Linked DNA regions of Homo sapiens: all the other regions are linked to region 3. The links are contacts of gene promoters, found by promoter capture Hi-C in human tissues and cell types (Jung and others, 2019). All regions are on one chromosome and are shown on one strand. The core of a region is centred on a gene start or on the middle of the fragment in contact, and the rest is flanking DNA. Distances in the headings are between cores, read along the strand shown. Region 1 holds the start of GSTM1 (glutathione S-transferase mu 1). Region 2 holds the start of GSTM5 (glutathione S-transferase mu 5). Region 3 overlaps AHCYL1 (adenosylhomocysteinase like 1).

Region 1 (5,000 bases), core at 1,399-3,898, 340 kb before region 3:
TATTGGGGGCAGGTTCCCCAATAGCCTTGCTGAGGAAATTAAATTTATGTTCAAGTGCTATTTCTTTATGGCACCAAGGAACAAGTATTTCAAACAATACTAATGTAACAGTACTGGTTCTATGTGTTTCAAAATTATTATTCTCATGAGTGTTAGCTTTCTTAAAAAATCGTTTTTTTTTTCAATTGGATCTAGACATCTTATCTTTCACAGCTCAAGACGGATTAACTCAGAATCATAAACTCTTAATGCATAATGAGAAATATAATGTTTCCTAGGGCCAGGCACTTGTGTCTGTGCTGGTGCTATTGCCTCAATGCAGGAAAATCTATGTAAGAGTTCACTGTGAGGCCAAAACTGCTTCCTAAACATGGATACCTGCCAGGTATCTGAGCTGGGAGTACTGCCCAGGTCTGGATGGGCGGGGAGTGTTTGCAACAAGGACTGTGCCTTGCCAGCCTCAGTGACACAGTGTCCAAGTGCCCCAACTTAGCAGCCACCTGCTGACCACCTGATTTCTGTGGCCTAATAGGGATGTGATGAAGTCTACCTGTTTACTCAACCCCAAACCACACATTATCCAGGTGGTTTGAAACTTTTTTGATATACTGGGTTCATCCTCTGGAGTCCTAACAATGTTTTAGCTAATTTACAAAAAACAAAACAAAACAAAACAAAACAAAACAAAACAAAAAAACTACTTTTTTTGCAGCACAACAGCCTGGTTTACATTGCAAAATGATTTCTCATTAAAGGTCTATCATCTATTTCCATATGTCCATTATTATTTGCAATATCCTTTAAAGCAGTCAACCCCAGGCTAATCCATTGCACAACTCTTTTGAAAGTCTTCCTTCTACCTTGAAAGAAGAAAGTTGGCAGGTTGGACATTGTTCTCGTGGAGGTTGTACCATGGGTCACATATCACGGTGTGACTTCAAAGGCCACTGGAGCCACCGTCTCATACTGAAGAACACACATGGGTCAGGAGCCAGGTCCAGGTCCGGAATGGTGGATCTGGAGAGGGGAGGGTCCCTGCCTGTGGTCCTGTGGGGAGCCCTCAGGCTCCTCTCTGGCCACCATCCTCTGACCTCCCTCCTCAGCAGGACAGGGTTCTGGCTTCTCTGAGGGACAGGTTCTGTGGCAGGCCAGGCGTCACTAACACAGGCCTCCATAACAACTGTTTCAGTACTGACTGAGTGGTGAAGTTAAATATTAAAAGCTGAAAAAAGCCAGTACCTTTATACAGAGGCTGGATGTAACAAAAGCCCACCAAGAGTTTTGCTTAGGCCTTTCCTGGGCCTTAAAGCATGACAAAACAATGAAGGAATTCTTAACAGGACCTATTTAGAATTAAACAAGTTTTATTGTGAGTCTGAAGAAACTCCCCAGGCCTCCACAAACAAGTTTATTGGGCGTCTGAAGGAACTCCCCAAACCTCCGTGATTTAGCAGGAGACAAGATAAGGGTAATCATCCCCCGCACCTGGACCCATTTAGATTAAATAAATAGACTGAGGCTCCAGAATAAGGTCCTCAGGACCCAGACCTCAGTTACAGATTAAAGAAGTTAATCACTTATGTCTTTAGATGAATGCACACTTACTTGTAGACATATACCTTAGAAGGTATATATGCTCTGGAAAACTTTGTAATATTGAGTTGGTCTGGTGGTAATTTCTAGGCCTTCTCCCTGTTACCGGTTGCAGAAATAAAACCTCTCTTCCTCCCCATTTGATCTGCATCTCGTTATTGGGCCTAGAGAAATAGCAGCCGGACCCTCAGTTTGGTCCGGGAAGTTCTTCCATCCTCCCTCGCCTGCTCTCTGTGGCCACTGCACTCACTGTTGCTGTTGCTGTTCCGGTCTCTGTGAGGTTCACCTAGTGGACTGGCTGGACATTTCTAGGGGGCACCTCAGATACCTCACCAACTTGCTGGATCTGATCCTTGGATTTCGATTCATAAATTGTGCCAAAATACGAAGTGGCTAATTTACACAGTACTTAGCCAGATGACCGAAGGACTCAGTACCCGAGGGCCCCTAACAGAAAACACAGACCACATTTCCTTTACTCTGGCCCTTTTCCTGGGGGTCCTTCCTATACCACTGACACTGTTCCTGTGTAGGCGGGGCTAGAGGGGAGACTAAGCCCTGGGAGTAGCTTTCGGATCAGAGGAAGTCCTGCTCTTACAGTGACAGGGGCTGAATTAAATTCCCAGGTTGGGGCCACCACTTTTTAGTCTGACCCCTGCAGCCGGAGTCTCCCAGAGCCCTTGGGAACTCGGCAGCGGAGAGAAGGCTGAGGGACACCGCGGGCAGGGAGGAGAAGGGAGAAGAGCTTTGCTCCGTTAGGATCTGGCTGGTGTCTCAAGCGCACAGCCAAGTCGCTGTGGACCTAGCAAGGGCTGGATGGACTCGTGGAGCCTCAGGGCTGGGTAGGGAAGCTGGCGAGGCCGAGCCCCGCCTTGGGCTTCTGGGCGCCCTGACTTCGCTCCCGGAACCCTCGGGCCTGGGAGGCGGGAGGAAGTCTTACTGAGTGCAGCCCCAGGCGCCCTCTCCCGGGCCTCCAGAATGGCGCCTTTCGGGTTGTGGCGGGCCGAGGGGCGGGGTCGCAGCAAGGCCCCGCCTGTCCCCTCTCCGGAGCTCTTATACTCTGAGCCCTGCTCGGTTTAGGCCTGTCTGCGGAATCCGCACCAACCAGCACCATGCCCATGATACTGGGGTACTGGGACATCCGCGGGGTGAGCGAGGGTCCGCTGGACGGTGGGACGAGGGCGCAGGGGAGGGAAGTGCGAAGCAGCTGCGGGACGGACTCTAGGGACCGTTCCTCTTCAGGGCTGCCCGCCTCAGAAGGGCCTGTGCATGCCGCTGTGTGTGTGTTGGGGGTGTGGGCGGGTAGAGGAGGCAACGGGTACGTGCAGTGTAAACTGGGGGCTTCCCTGGTGCAGACAAAGTCAGGGACCCTCCATCTCTGACGCGACCTGCGGGCCATCTCTCCCAGCTGGCCCACGCCATCCGCCTGCTCCTGGAATACACAGACTCAAGCTATGAGGAAAAGAAGTACACGATGGGGGACGGTAATGGCACCCTCGTGTTCGGGCTCTGCCCACTCACGCTAAGTTGGCACCAAGCAACCCATGGTGGCCACCTGTGGCTGCCTCTGCAGGCCTCCCCTGCTGGAGCTGCAGGCTGTCTCTTCCCTGAGCCCCGGTGAGGGAGCCCTCTGGCCTTGCAAGGCAGAATGCTGGGGTGGGATGCTGGGCCCCCTGTCTAATTGGGACGGGTGTCCCTCAGGGCTTGCCTAAACCCTGGAAGCCTTAGCTGTGTGGGGTCCAGAGCCCTCAGCGGGATTCTTTGTCCCTGAACCCTGGGATGTGGGACTGAGTGGTCAGATTCTAGATCCACCTGTCTCAGGGATCTTGCCACTGGCTCCGTGGGAGGGTCCCCGGGAAGGAGGGCTGGGCTCTGGGGAGGTTTGTTTTCACTTCTTCTTCCCCACCACAGCTCCTGATTATGACAGAAGCCAGTGGCTGAATGAAAAATTCAAGCTGGGCCTGGACTTTCCCAATGTAGGTGCAGGGGAAGGGGCGGTTTTGGGGGAAAGTGCAACGTGTCTCTGACTGCATCTCCTCTCCCCAGCTTAGAGGTGTTAAGATCAGGAGTCTTCTGCCCAATTCCTCTCACTCCTGGCTGTCTAAACAGTCCTTCCATGATGTTCTGTGTCCACCTGCATTCGTTCATGTGACAGTATTCTTATTTCAGTCCTGCCATGAGCAGGCACAGTGAGTGCCCGGTCTCCTCTCTGCTCTTGCTTATGGGAAGGGGATGCTGGGGAGCCTGGTGGCCCAACTGAGCTTCGCCGGTTTCCCATCCATCCAGCTGCCCTACTTGATTGATGGGGCTCACAAGATCACCCAGAGCAACGCCATCTTGTGCTACATTGCCCGCAAGCACAACCTGTGTGAGTGTGGGTGGCTGCAATGTGTGGGGGGAAGGTGGCCTCCTCCTTGGCTGGGCTGTGATGCTGAGATTGAGTCTGTGTTTTGTGGGTGGCAGGTGGGGAGACAGAAGAGGAGAAGATTCGTGTGGACATTTTGGAGAACCAGACCATGGACAACCATATGCAGCTGGGCATGATCTGCTACAATCCAGAATTTGTGAGTGTCCCCAGTGAGCTGCATCTGACAGAGTTTGGATTTGGGGCCAGGACTCTTGCATTCCTGCACACACTGGTCTTAAGTCCCTGGTACCATTCATCCTCCAAGTGCTTTCCCATACTATCAGCAGTTATTCTCACGACTCCAATGTCATGTCAACAAAAGCAGAGGCAATTCCCACCAACCTTAGGACACGATCCAGGCATCCCAGGGTAGAAATTCAGTTCCTGTATGGTAAAGTTTGTGTTCAGAATCTCCTTCATCAGCTCTGGCCTCTGACTTCTGTCCTGGGTCATTTCTGTCAGCCAGTTCACATCACCTGCCTGCTCCTAGAATATGCAGACTCAAGTAGAAGACTCAGGAATGTAATGGCACCCTCGAATTGCATCTTCTCCTCAACAGTTTTCTGAGTGCTGTCATTGACATGCACAGGGATCTGCGCATTTTCATAACAGACAGCTCAGAGGCAGTCAGAGGGCCTTTATTCCTCTCCCTCCTTCCTTTCAACTTGAACTTCTCATCTCCCTGGAAACTAGTCAATGTTCATTGTTTTCTTCTGCCACCCCATTAGAAGGAACTTTCTACTTTCCCTGAGCTCCCTTAGTTCTTTGCATCCTTGATTCTGCTGGTCTGGATCCAGAGGCTGCCAGGTGCTTGGGCGCTCCTGGGGCTGACCCAGAGGCTATTGGGAGGTCAGTGAGGACAGATTCAGGGACAGCATCTCATTCCTCTCTGCCTTCTGATCAGTTTAGATAGGGTCTGGCACTCAGTCAGAGTCTAATAAATGCTGATGTATCCAATTGAAGCCTGGGCACTGCCCCAGTTCCAGCTTGGGGAAGATGG
Region 2 (4,324 bases), core at 1,725-4,224, 310 kb before region 3:
TGTTTAAGATGTTTATCAAGACAATACGTGCACTGCTGAACATAGACCCTTATCAGGAGTTCTACTTTTGCCCTTGTCCTGTTTCCTCAGAAGCATGTGATCTCTGTTCTGTTTTTTGCCCCTTAAAGCATGTGATCTTTGTACCTACCCCCCGTTCGTACACCCCCTCCCCTTTTGCAATCCTTAATAAAAGCTTGCTGGTTTTGAGGCTCGGGCCGGCATCACGGTCCTACTGATATGTGATGTCACCCCTGGCGGCCCAGCTGTAAAATTCCTCTCTTTGTACTCTTTCTCTTTATTTCTCAGCCAGCTGACACTTATGGAAAATAGAACCTATGTTGAAATACTGGGGGCAGTTTCCCCGATAGCCTTGCTGAGGAAATTAAATTTATGTTCAAGTGCTATTTCTTTATGGAACCAAGGAACAAGTATTTCAAACAATACTAATGTAACAGTACTGGTTCTATGTGTTTCAAAATTATTATTCTCATGAGTGTTAGCTTTCTTAAAAAATCGTTTTTATCAATTGGATCTAGACATCTTATCTTTCACAGCTCAAGACCCATTAACTCAAAATCATAAACTCTTAATGCATAATGAGAAATATAATGATTCCTAGGGCCAGGCACTTGTGTCTGTGCTGGTGCTATTGCCTCAATGCAGGAAAATCTATGTGAGAATTCACTGTGAGGCCAAAACTGCTTCCTAAACATGGATACCTGCCAGGTATCTGAGCTGGGAGTACTGCCCAGGTCTGGATGGGTGGGGAGTGTTTGCAACAAGGACTGTGCCTTGCCAGCCTCAGTGACACAGTGTCCAAGTGCCCCAACTTAGCAGCCACCTGCTGACCACCTGATTTCTGTGGCCTAATAGGGATGTGATGAAGTCTACCTGTTTACTCAACCCCAAACCACACATTATCCAGGTGGTTTGAAACTTTTTTGATATACTGGGTTCATCCTCTGGAGTCCTAACAATGTTTTAGCTAATTTACAAAAAAACAAAAACAAAAACAAAAAACAAAAAACTACTTTTTTTGCAGCACAACAGCCTGGTTTACATTGCAAAATGATTTCTCATTAAAGGTCTATCATCTATTTCCATATATCCATTATTATTTGTAATATCCTTTAAAAAAAGCAGTCAACCCCAGGCTAATCCATTGCACAACTCTTTTGAAAGTCTTCCTTCTACCTTGAAAGAAGAAAGTTGGCAGGTTGGACATTGTTCTTGCGGAGGTTGTACCATGGGTCACATATCACGGTGTGACTTCAAAGGCCACTGGAGCCACCGTCTCATACTGAAGAACACACATGGGTCAGGAGCCAGGTCCAGGTCCGGCATGGTGGATCTGGAGAGGGGAGAGTCCCTGCCTGTGATCCTGTGGGGAGCCCTCAGGCTCCTCTCTGGCCACCATCCTCTGACCTCCCTCCTCAGCAGGACAGGGTTCTGGCTTCTCTGAGGGACAGGTTCTGTGGCAGACCAGGTGTCACTAACACAGGCCTCCATAACAACTGTTTCAGTACTGACTGAGTGATGAAATTAAATATTAAAAGCTGAAAAAAGCCAGTACCTTTATACAGAGGCTGGATGTAACAAAAGCCCACCAAGAGTTTTGCTTAGGCCTTTCCTGGGCCTTAAAGCATGACAAAACAACGAAGGAATTCTTAACAGGACCTATTTAGAATTAAACAAGTTTTATTGTGAGTCTGAAGAAACTCCCCAGGCCTCCACAAACAAGTTTACTGGGCATCTGAAGGAACTCCCCAAACCTCCATGATTTAGCAGGAGACAAGATAAGGGCAATCATCCCCCGCACCTGGACCCATTTAGATTAAGTAAATAGACTGAGGCTCCAGAGTAAGGTCCTCAGGACCCAGACCTCAGTTACAGATTAAAGAAGTTAATCACTTATGTCTTTAGATGAATGCACACTTACTTGTAGACATATACCTTAGAAGGTATATATGCTCTGGAAAACTTTAATTTTGAGTTGGTCTGGTAGTAATTTCCAGGCCTTCTCCCTGTAACTGGTTGCAGAAATAAAACCTCTCTTCCTCCCCATTTGATCTGCATCTCGTTATTGGGCCTAGAGAAATAGCAGCCGGACCCTCAGTTTGGTCCGGGAAGTTCTTCCATCCTCCCTCGCCTGCTCTCTGTGGCCACTGCACTCACTGTTGCTGTTGCTGTTCCGGTCTCTGTGAGGTTCACCTAGTGGACTGGCTGGACATTTCTAGGGGGCACCTCAGATACCTCACCAACTTGCTGGATCTGATCCTTGGATTTCGATTCATAAATTGTGCCAAAATACGAAGTGGCTAATTTACATAGTACTTAGCCAGATGACCGAAGGACTCAGTATCCAAAGGCCCCTAACAGAAAACACAGACCACATTTCCTTTACTCTGGCCCTTTTCCTGGGGGTCCTTCCTATACCACTGACACTGTTCCTGTGTAGGCGGGGCTAGAGGGGAGACTAAGCCCTCGGAGTAGCTTTCGGATCAGAGGAAGTCCTGCTCTTACAGTGACAGGGGCTGAATTAAATTCCCAGGTTGGGACCACCACTTTTTAGTCTGACCCCTGCAGCCGGAGTCTCCCAGAGCCCTTGGGAACTCGGCAGCGGAGAGAAGGCTGAGGGATTCTGCGGGCAGGGAGGAGAAGGGAGAAGAGCTTTGCTCCGTTAGGATCTGGCTGGTGTCTCAAGCGCACAGCCAAGTCGCTGTGGACCTAGCAAGGGCTGGATGGACTCATGGAGCCTCAGGGCGGGTTGGGGAAGCTGGCGAGGCCGAGCCCCGCTTTGGGCTTCTGGGCGCCCTGACCTCGCTCCCGGAACCCTGGGGACTGGGAGGCGGGAGGGGGCTTATTGATTCCAGCCCCGGGCGCTCGCTCGGGGGCCTACAGAATGGCGTGTTTCGGGGTTGTGGCGGGCCGAGGGGCGGGGTCGCAGCAAGGCCCCGCCTGTCCCCTCCTGGGCCTCTCAAAGTCTGAGCCCCGCTCCGCTGATGCCTGTCTGCAGAATCCGCACCAACCAGCACCATGCCCATGACTCTGGGGTACTGGGACATCCGTGGGGTAAGCGAGGGTCCTCTGGTGGGTGGGACAGGGGGCGGAGGCGGGGATGTGTGGAGTAGCTGCAGGACTGGCTCTAGGGACCGTTCCTCTTCAGGGCTGCCCGCCTCAGAAGGGCCTGTGCATGACGCTGTGTGTGTGTTTGGGGGTGGGGGCGGGTAGAGGAGGCGACGGGTACGTGCAGTATAGACTAGGGGCTGGCCTGGTGCAGAGAAAGTCACCAAGTCAGGGACCCTCCATCTCTGACCCGAGCCGCGGGCCATCTCTCCCAGCTGGCCCACGCCATCCGCTTGCTCCTGGAATACACAGACTCAAGCTATGTGGAAAAGAAGTACACGCTGGGGGACGGTAATGGCACCCTCGTGTCCGGGCCCTGCCCACTCACGCTGAGTTGGCACCAAGCAACCCATGGTGGCCACCTGTGGCTGCCTCTGCAGGCCTCCCCTGCTGGAGCTGCAGGCTGTCCCTTCCCTGAGCTCCCGTGAGTGAGCCCTCTGGCCTTGCAAGGCAGAATGCTGGGGCGGGATGCTGGACACCCTGTCTAATTGGGTTGGGTGTCCCTCAGAGCTTCCCTAAACCCTGGAAGCCTTAGCCGTTGTGGGGTCCAGAGCCCTCAGTGGGATTCTTTCTCCCTGAACCCTGGGATGTGGGACTGAGTGGTCAGATTCTAGATCCACCTGTCTCAGGGATCTTGCCACTGGCTCCTTGGGAGGGTCCCCGGGAAGGAGGGCTGGGCTCTGGGGAGGTTTGTTTTCACTTCTTCCCCACCACAGCTCCTGACTATGACAGAAGCCAGTGGCTGAATGAAAAATTCAAGCTGGGCCTGGACTTTCCCAATGTAGGTGCAGGGGAAGGGGCGGTTTTGGGGGAAAGTGCGACGTGTCTCTGACTGCATCTCCTCTCCCCACCTTAGAGGTGTTAAGATCAGGAGTCTTCTGCCCAATTCCTCTCACTCTTGGCTGTCTACACAGCCCTTGCATGATGTTCTGTGTCCCAGCTCATTTATTAGTGTGACAGTATTTCTATCTCAGGCCTGCCATGAGCAGGCCCTGGTCTCCTCTCTGCCCTTGCATATGGGAAGGGGATGCTGGGGAGCCTGGTGGCCCAACTGAGCTTCCCCGGTTTCCCATCTATCCAGCTGCCCTACTTGATTGATGGGGCTCACAAGATCACCCAGAGCAATGCCATCCTGCGCTACATTGCCCGCAAGCACAACCTGTGTGAGTGTGGGTGGCTGCAATGTGCGGGGGGAAGG
Region 3 (4,918 bases), core at 2,383-4,882:
ACAATGGTTTAGGGAGATGTTCTTACTCTAAGTAGCCTTATGAAGTTCAGTAAACTTCCCAGTGCAGCTGAGTACATACAGCCTTGGAACAAAATGAGAGAAACAAACACAGGTTTTATTGTCCATTTTCTGTGAGGATATGCAAACCATCCAATCTCTTGTAAGCAACCCATGCTGTGTTCATGTGACATAATACATCATCTCTAGTCCTTTGCCTTTCTGCACGGTGTACCCATCTCCCATATCTCCTTGGCTAGCCCAAATCCCTGACTTCTTAATGCTAAAATACTTCTTGCTCTCCTCTCCTCCAATAGCTTACTTCAGACTTTTTTTTCAGTGTATAATTATAAAAGGGAAGCTTATCTATGGAAAAGTAAAAATTCTGTGCCGACTACCTTAGAAATTCATGATCCTAAGATCCATGGATCTTATCCTAAATGAGTGTTATTGACACAGGGTCTTTCTAGCTTACTGGTGTCCACTTTGATTGCTAATTTGACTATAATCTAGTTAAGGAGGTTGCTGCAGGAAGGTAGGAGTAGCATGTGACATGTGGGCCACTGCAGGGAAGCCCCCTGCTTTGCCAGAGAAGGATAGAGAGGTAAAAGCCCACTCCCTTTTGTTACCCTGGTAAGTGGCTTTTCTGAACGCACTGTACATGTGCTGAGAGAAGCATCCTGCCCAGAAAGGCAGCTTTGAGGTTTTTTTTTTAATTAAGCAAATATTTCAAGTTGTGGATTCTTTCAGAGTTATTCCATCCCTTGTCTGCTTTCTTAAAAAAGCTTCAAATGAAAATGGGAAGTTATAACTTGAGAGACATTTTGAAAAGGAGTCTGCTCTCCTGCCACTTTGCTCTTCCTAGATGAATACGTTGCCAGCTTGCATCTGCCATCATTTGATGCCCACCTTACAGAGCTGACAGATGACCAAGCAAAATATCTGGGACTCAACAAAAATGGGCCATTCAAACCTAATTATTACAGGTAACCTGGGGAGAAGCAAGTGAAAAGCTCTTTTTCCCAGTATTAAACCAAGCAGGCTAGCCTGCTTCTGACATAAAGATCAAATGTTGTACCTGATTTTGAAGAATACAAGAAATCTGTTCCAGGCCAGGCACGGTGGCTCACGCCTGTAATCCCAGCACTTTGAGAGGCCTAGGCGGATGGATCACTTGAGGTCAGGAGTTCAAGACCAGCCTGGCCAACATGGCGAAACCCTATCTCTTAGCCGGGTGTGGTGGCGGGCACCTGTCATCCCAGTTACTCAGGTGGCTGAGGCACGAGAATCACTTGAACCTGGGAGGCGGAGGTTGCAGTGAGCTGGGATCATGCCACTGCACTCCAGCCTGGGTGATGGAGTGAGACTCTGTCTTAAAAACAAACAAACAAACAAAAAAACTGTTCCAGTTAACAAGGTAGATAGAGAAATTGTGGGAGATATCAGGGAGTTAGGGTTTTTTTGAAATTTTGGAGCCTGGGCCTCACCCTAAGAGATTCTGATATATTTGGTCTGCGATGGGACCAAATTTACAAAACATTATTTTGTAAAACCTCCCCAGATTATTGTAATGTTTAGTCAGGGTTGAAAAAACACTGACTCATTCCTGGGAACAGGCGGTAACACCAGAAATGGCATTGTCAGAGACCCTGTGGAAGAATAAGGGAGACTGGTGCCCTGGGGAATGACTGCAGGGATCCCACCCAGGCTGGGGAGGGGCCCTGGAGAAGGTGCTCTGTTTCCGATTGTTTTTTGGAATTCTCATATGGAAGACATAAGTGTTAACCAATCACTCTCTCTCTTTACAGATACTAATGGACCATACTACCAAGGACCAGTCCACCTGAACCACACACTCTAAAGAAATATTTTTTAAGATAACTTTTATTTTCTTCTTACTCCTTTCCTCTTGATTTTTTTCCTATAATTTCATTCTTGTTTTTTCATCTCATTATCCAAGTTCTGCAGACCACACAGGAACTTGCTTCATGGCTCTTTAGATGAAATAGAAGTTCAGGGTTCCTCACTCTAGTCACTAAAGAAGGATTTTACTCTCCCAGCCCAGAAAGGTGATTCTTTCTTTACCATTTCTGGGGACTTTAGTCTTAATTAGGTACCTTATTAACAGGAAATGCTAAGGTACCTTCTCTGTGGAACAATCTGCAATGTCTAAATCGCCTTAAAAGAGCCCATTTCTTAGCTGCTGAAATCAGTGCTCTTTCACTTCTTCAGAGAAGCAGGGATGGTACCTACCCGGCAGGTAGGTTAGATGTGGGTGGTGCATGTTAATTTCCCTTAGAAGTTCCAAGCCCTGTTTCCTGCGTAAAGGTGGTATGTCCAGTTCAGAGATGTGTATAATGAGCATGGCTTGTTAAGATCAGGAGGCCCACTTGGATTTATAGTATAGCCCTTCCTCCACTCCCACCAGACTTGCTCATTTTTCGAGTTTTTAACTAGACTACACTCTATTGAGTTTAATTTTGTCCTCTAGGATTTATTTCTGTTGTCCAAAAAAAAAAAAAAAGAAAAGAAAAATTAAGGAGAATTTTTGGTGTTAATGCTGAGGAATTGCTTGAGTGGTTAGTTGTTACCAATTTCTCTTTTGAACCTTTGGAGCTAAGGATGCTGAGTCTAGAGAAATGCTAGTCTCAAGCCCTGTTAAGTCCCTCTGTTTCTAGCCCGTAGTTCATAGCATCAGTGAACTGGAGCCACAACAGCAAATTCTATCAGCTGTGTACCATACAGCTTGTGCTGAAGGCGAATTTCTTGAGCCATTACTCAGTATAAAGCACTGAGTTCTATCTTTAGGATTTATCTTTAAGAGCAAATTTCTGGTCAGCTGTGCTTCTGCAACCTAAAATATTTAAAGGGAGGTAGGTGTGGGCAGGAGGAGGAATGATAAATTGGGCCAGGGCAAGAAAAATCTAGCTTCATATAATTTGTCTGGGACTATACACCCTATATAATGTTAGTTTTACAGAAGTAATATGACTTTTGATTGCTACATACCACAAAGAGTTTATGAACTGAGATCATAAAGGGCAACTGATGTGTGAAGAAAGTAGTCAGTACATCCTGGCTCATGCTCTGAAAGAATATCCAGAGAGGCTCTCTCAAAGATCAGGGAGATGTATTCCCATGCCATGCACCCTGCTTCCCAGCATTTCTGCATGGTCAAGTGAGCTTTATGCTCATGAGCTTTAAGTATATAATTATCCAGGATTTTAAATCCTCAACTTGTTCTAGCTTGTGATCCCTCAAAGTTGGGTCATACGTTAGTGCTAGATACTAGAAATTTTCACTTTTCCACTGATCAGAGAGACAGACATTAAAAACAAAAATAGAAGAAAGGAAAGCTTTCACCCTGCAGCTTCTTAGCAGGGAACAATTGTCTTGCCAAAACTTTTTTCCCTTTTCTCTCCCATTTTCTTTTACCCAATCCCTTCTTACTCCTTGCCAGTGTGACCATGCTTTCTTCTCTGTAGATGTTAACAGTTAAGGCCTATTTTCCTCGGGCACTTAACCAACCAATCAGAACACCACATCTGTTAGGGGAGGTAACCTGGCCAACAGTGTATCCATCACGTTAGCCCTGCTGGAGGGAAGGGACCCACATTCACCTGCCCTCTGACCTGCCCCTTGATCCCATATCTATTACCGTGTCCATAGGAATAATAGGTAAGGGCTCTGTCTCTGTCAAGCCATGTAACAAAGGACACTGTTAAAAAAAAAAAAAAGTCTGGCATCAGAGGGAGCATGTGGAGAGCAACTTGGGAAGAACAAGTTCATTTTGTATTGAATGATTTTTAATGAATGCAATATTAATCCTTGCAGATGAGCAATAATCATTAAAATCGATTAAAATGATAAGACCTTATTGGCAGTCCGTATGTGTCATTCTTTGTTAAACAGCAAAACTTCATTAGAACCTGTTTTCTAGGGTGTGACAAGTTATAGGTCAGTAGCATTTAATAGAGATTTGTTGAGGGCCTAATATATAGAGGCTGGATACAGGATTCTTCAAAGTAATACCTGAAGTTTTGTATGCCTGCTCTGTGCCAAGCACCGGGCCTGGGTACTTTCACTCCTAACTTCCTTCAGGAAGCAGACTTGCTGCTTAAGCCTCAGGGTTCCTCATTTGCATAGTCCTTCTAAGACCTAATTTCTGAAGAATGCCCCCAAAGTTATGTAAGCTTCAGCCTCCTCCCACACCTGTATCCATTTCTGAAGTGGTCTCAGTGTCTTTTTTTTTTTTTTTTCTCTTTATTTTTTTGAGACAAGGTCTCACTGTCACCCAGGTTGGAGTGCAGTGGCTTGATCTCAGCTCACTGCAACTTCTGCCTTCCGGGCTCAAGTGATCCTCCCACCTCAACCTCCCAAGTAGCTGGGACCACAGTGTCAGCTAATTGTTTGTATTTTTGGTAGAGATGGGGTTTCGCCATGAAATCTAGGCTGATCTCAAACTCCTGGGCTCAAGTGATCCTCCTGCCTCTGCCTCCCAAAGTGCTGGGATTACTGGCCAGTGTCTTCTGATGTAAGAAAGTATTTATCTTGGTCAGTTTCTGCTGCTCCAGCAAAATCCTGAGACTGAGTAATTTATAAAGAACAGAAATTGATATTCTCACAGTTGGAGGCTGGGAAGTCCAAGGTCAAGTCGTTGGCAGATTTGGTGTCTGAAGAGGGCTGCTGCCTGCTTCCAAGATGGTACCTCTTATGCATCCTCATATAGCAGAAGGTAGAAGGGCAAAAAGGACCTAACTATTACCTCATATATGCCAAAGTCTGTTTTAGATACTGGGGATACATCAGTTTAAATCAGATGATCTCTTCCTTTGTGGTGTTTACGTAAAATTCCAACAAGATCCAAATTCCTTCCCTTTTTCCTTTACCCACAATTTGGCCATTAGGTAAGACAGAGCAA

The links. The method cuts DNA at HindIII sites, captures the fragments that hold promoters and counts their contacts. A contact is called where the count stands out against the background at its distance.
Region 1: the fragment with the promoter of GSTM1 here is called in contact with a fragment that was not itself captured in region 3 in 2 of the 25 tissues and cell types used here (liver and lymphoblastoid cells).
Region 2: the fragment with the promoter of GSTM5 here is called in contact with a fragment that was not itself captured in region 3 in 4 of the 25 tissues and cell types used here (IMR-90 fibroblasts, lymphoblastoid cells, mesenchymal stem cells and 1 more).

What each region holds. Positions count from the first base shown.
Region 1 is chr1:109,685,169-109,690,168 of GRCh38, forward strand. It overlaps GSTM1 (glutathione S-transferase mu 1), which reads left to right and starts at 2,649. Exons shown (of 8, transcript NM_000561.4): 1 at 2,649-2,741; 2 at 3,002-3,077; 3 at 3,505-3,569; 4 at 3,880-3,961; 5 at 4,057-4,157. The coding sequence starts at 2,706. RefSeq lists an enhancer at 2,699-2,748. The HindIII fragment of the contact is 14,943 bases long and covers 1-5,000 here.
Region 2 is chr1:109,709,277-109,713,600 of GRCh38, forward strand. GSTM5 (glutathione S-transferase mu 5) reads left to right here and starts at 2,975. Exons shown (of 8, transcript NM_000851.4): 1 at 2,975-3,072; 2 at 3,342-3,417; 3 at 3,843-3,907; 4 at 4,208-4,289. The coding sequence starts at 3,037. The HindIII fragment of the contact is 7,760 bases long and covers 1-4,324 here.
Region 3 is chr1:110,019,869-110,024,786 of GRCh38, forward strand. It overlaps AHCYL1 (adenosylhomocysteinase like 1), which reads left to right. Exons shown (of 17, transcript NM_006621.7): 16 at 863-983; 17 at 1,806-3,874. The coding sequence ends at 1,812. Among named protein-coding and RNA genes, the nearest start is that of STRIP1, 12 kb to the right of the region's middle. The HindIII fragment of the contact is 6,125 bases long and covers 571-4,918 here.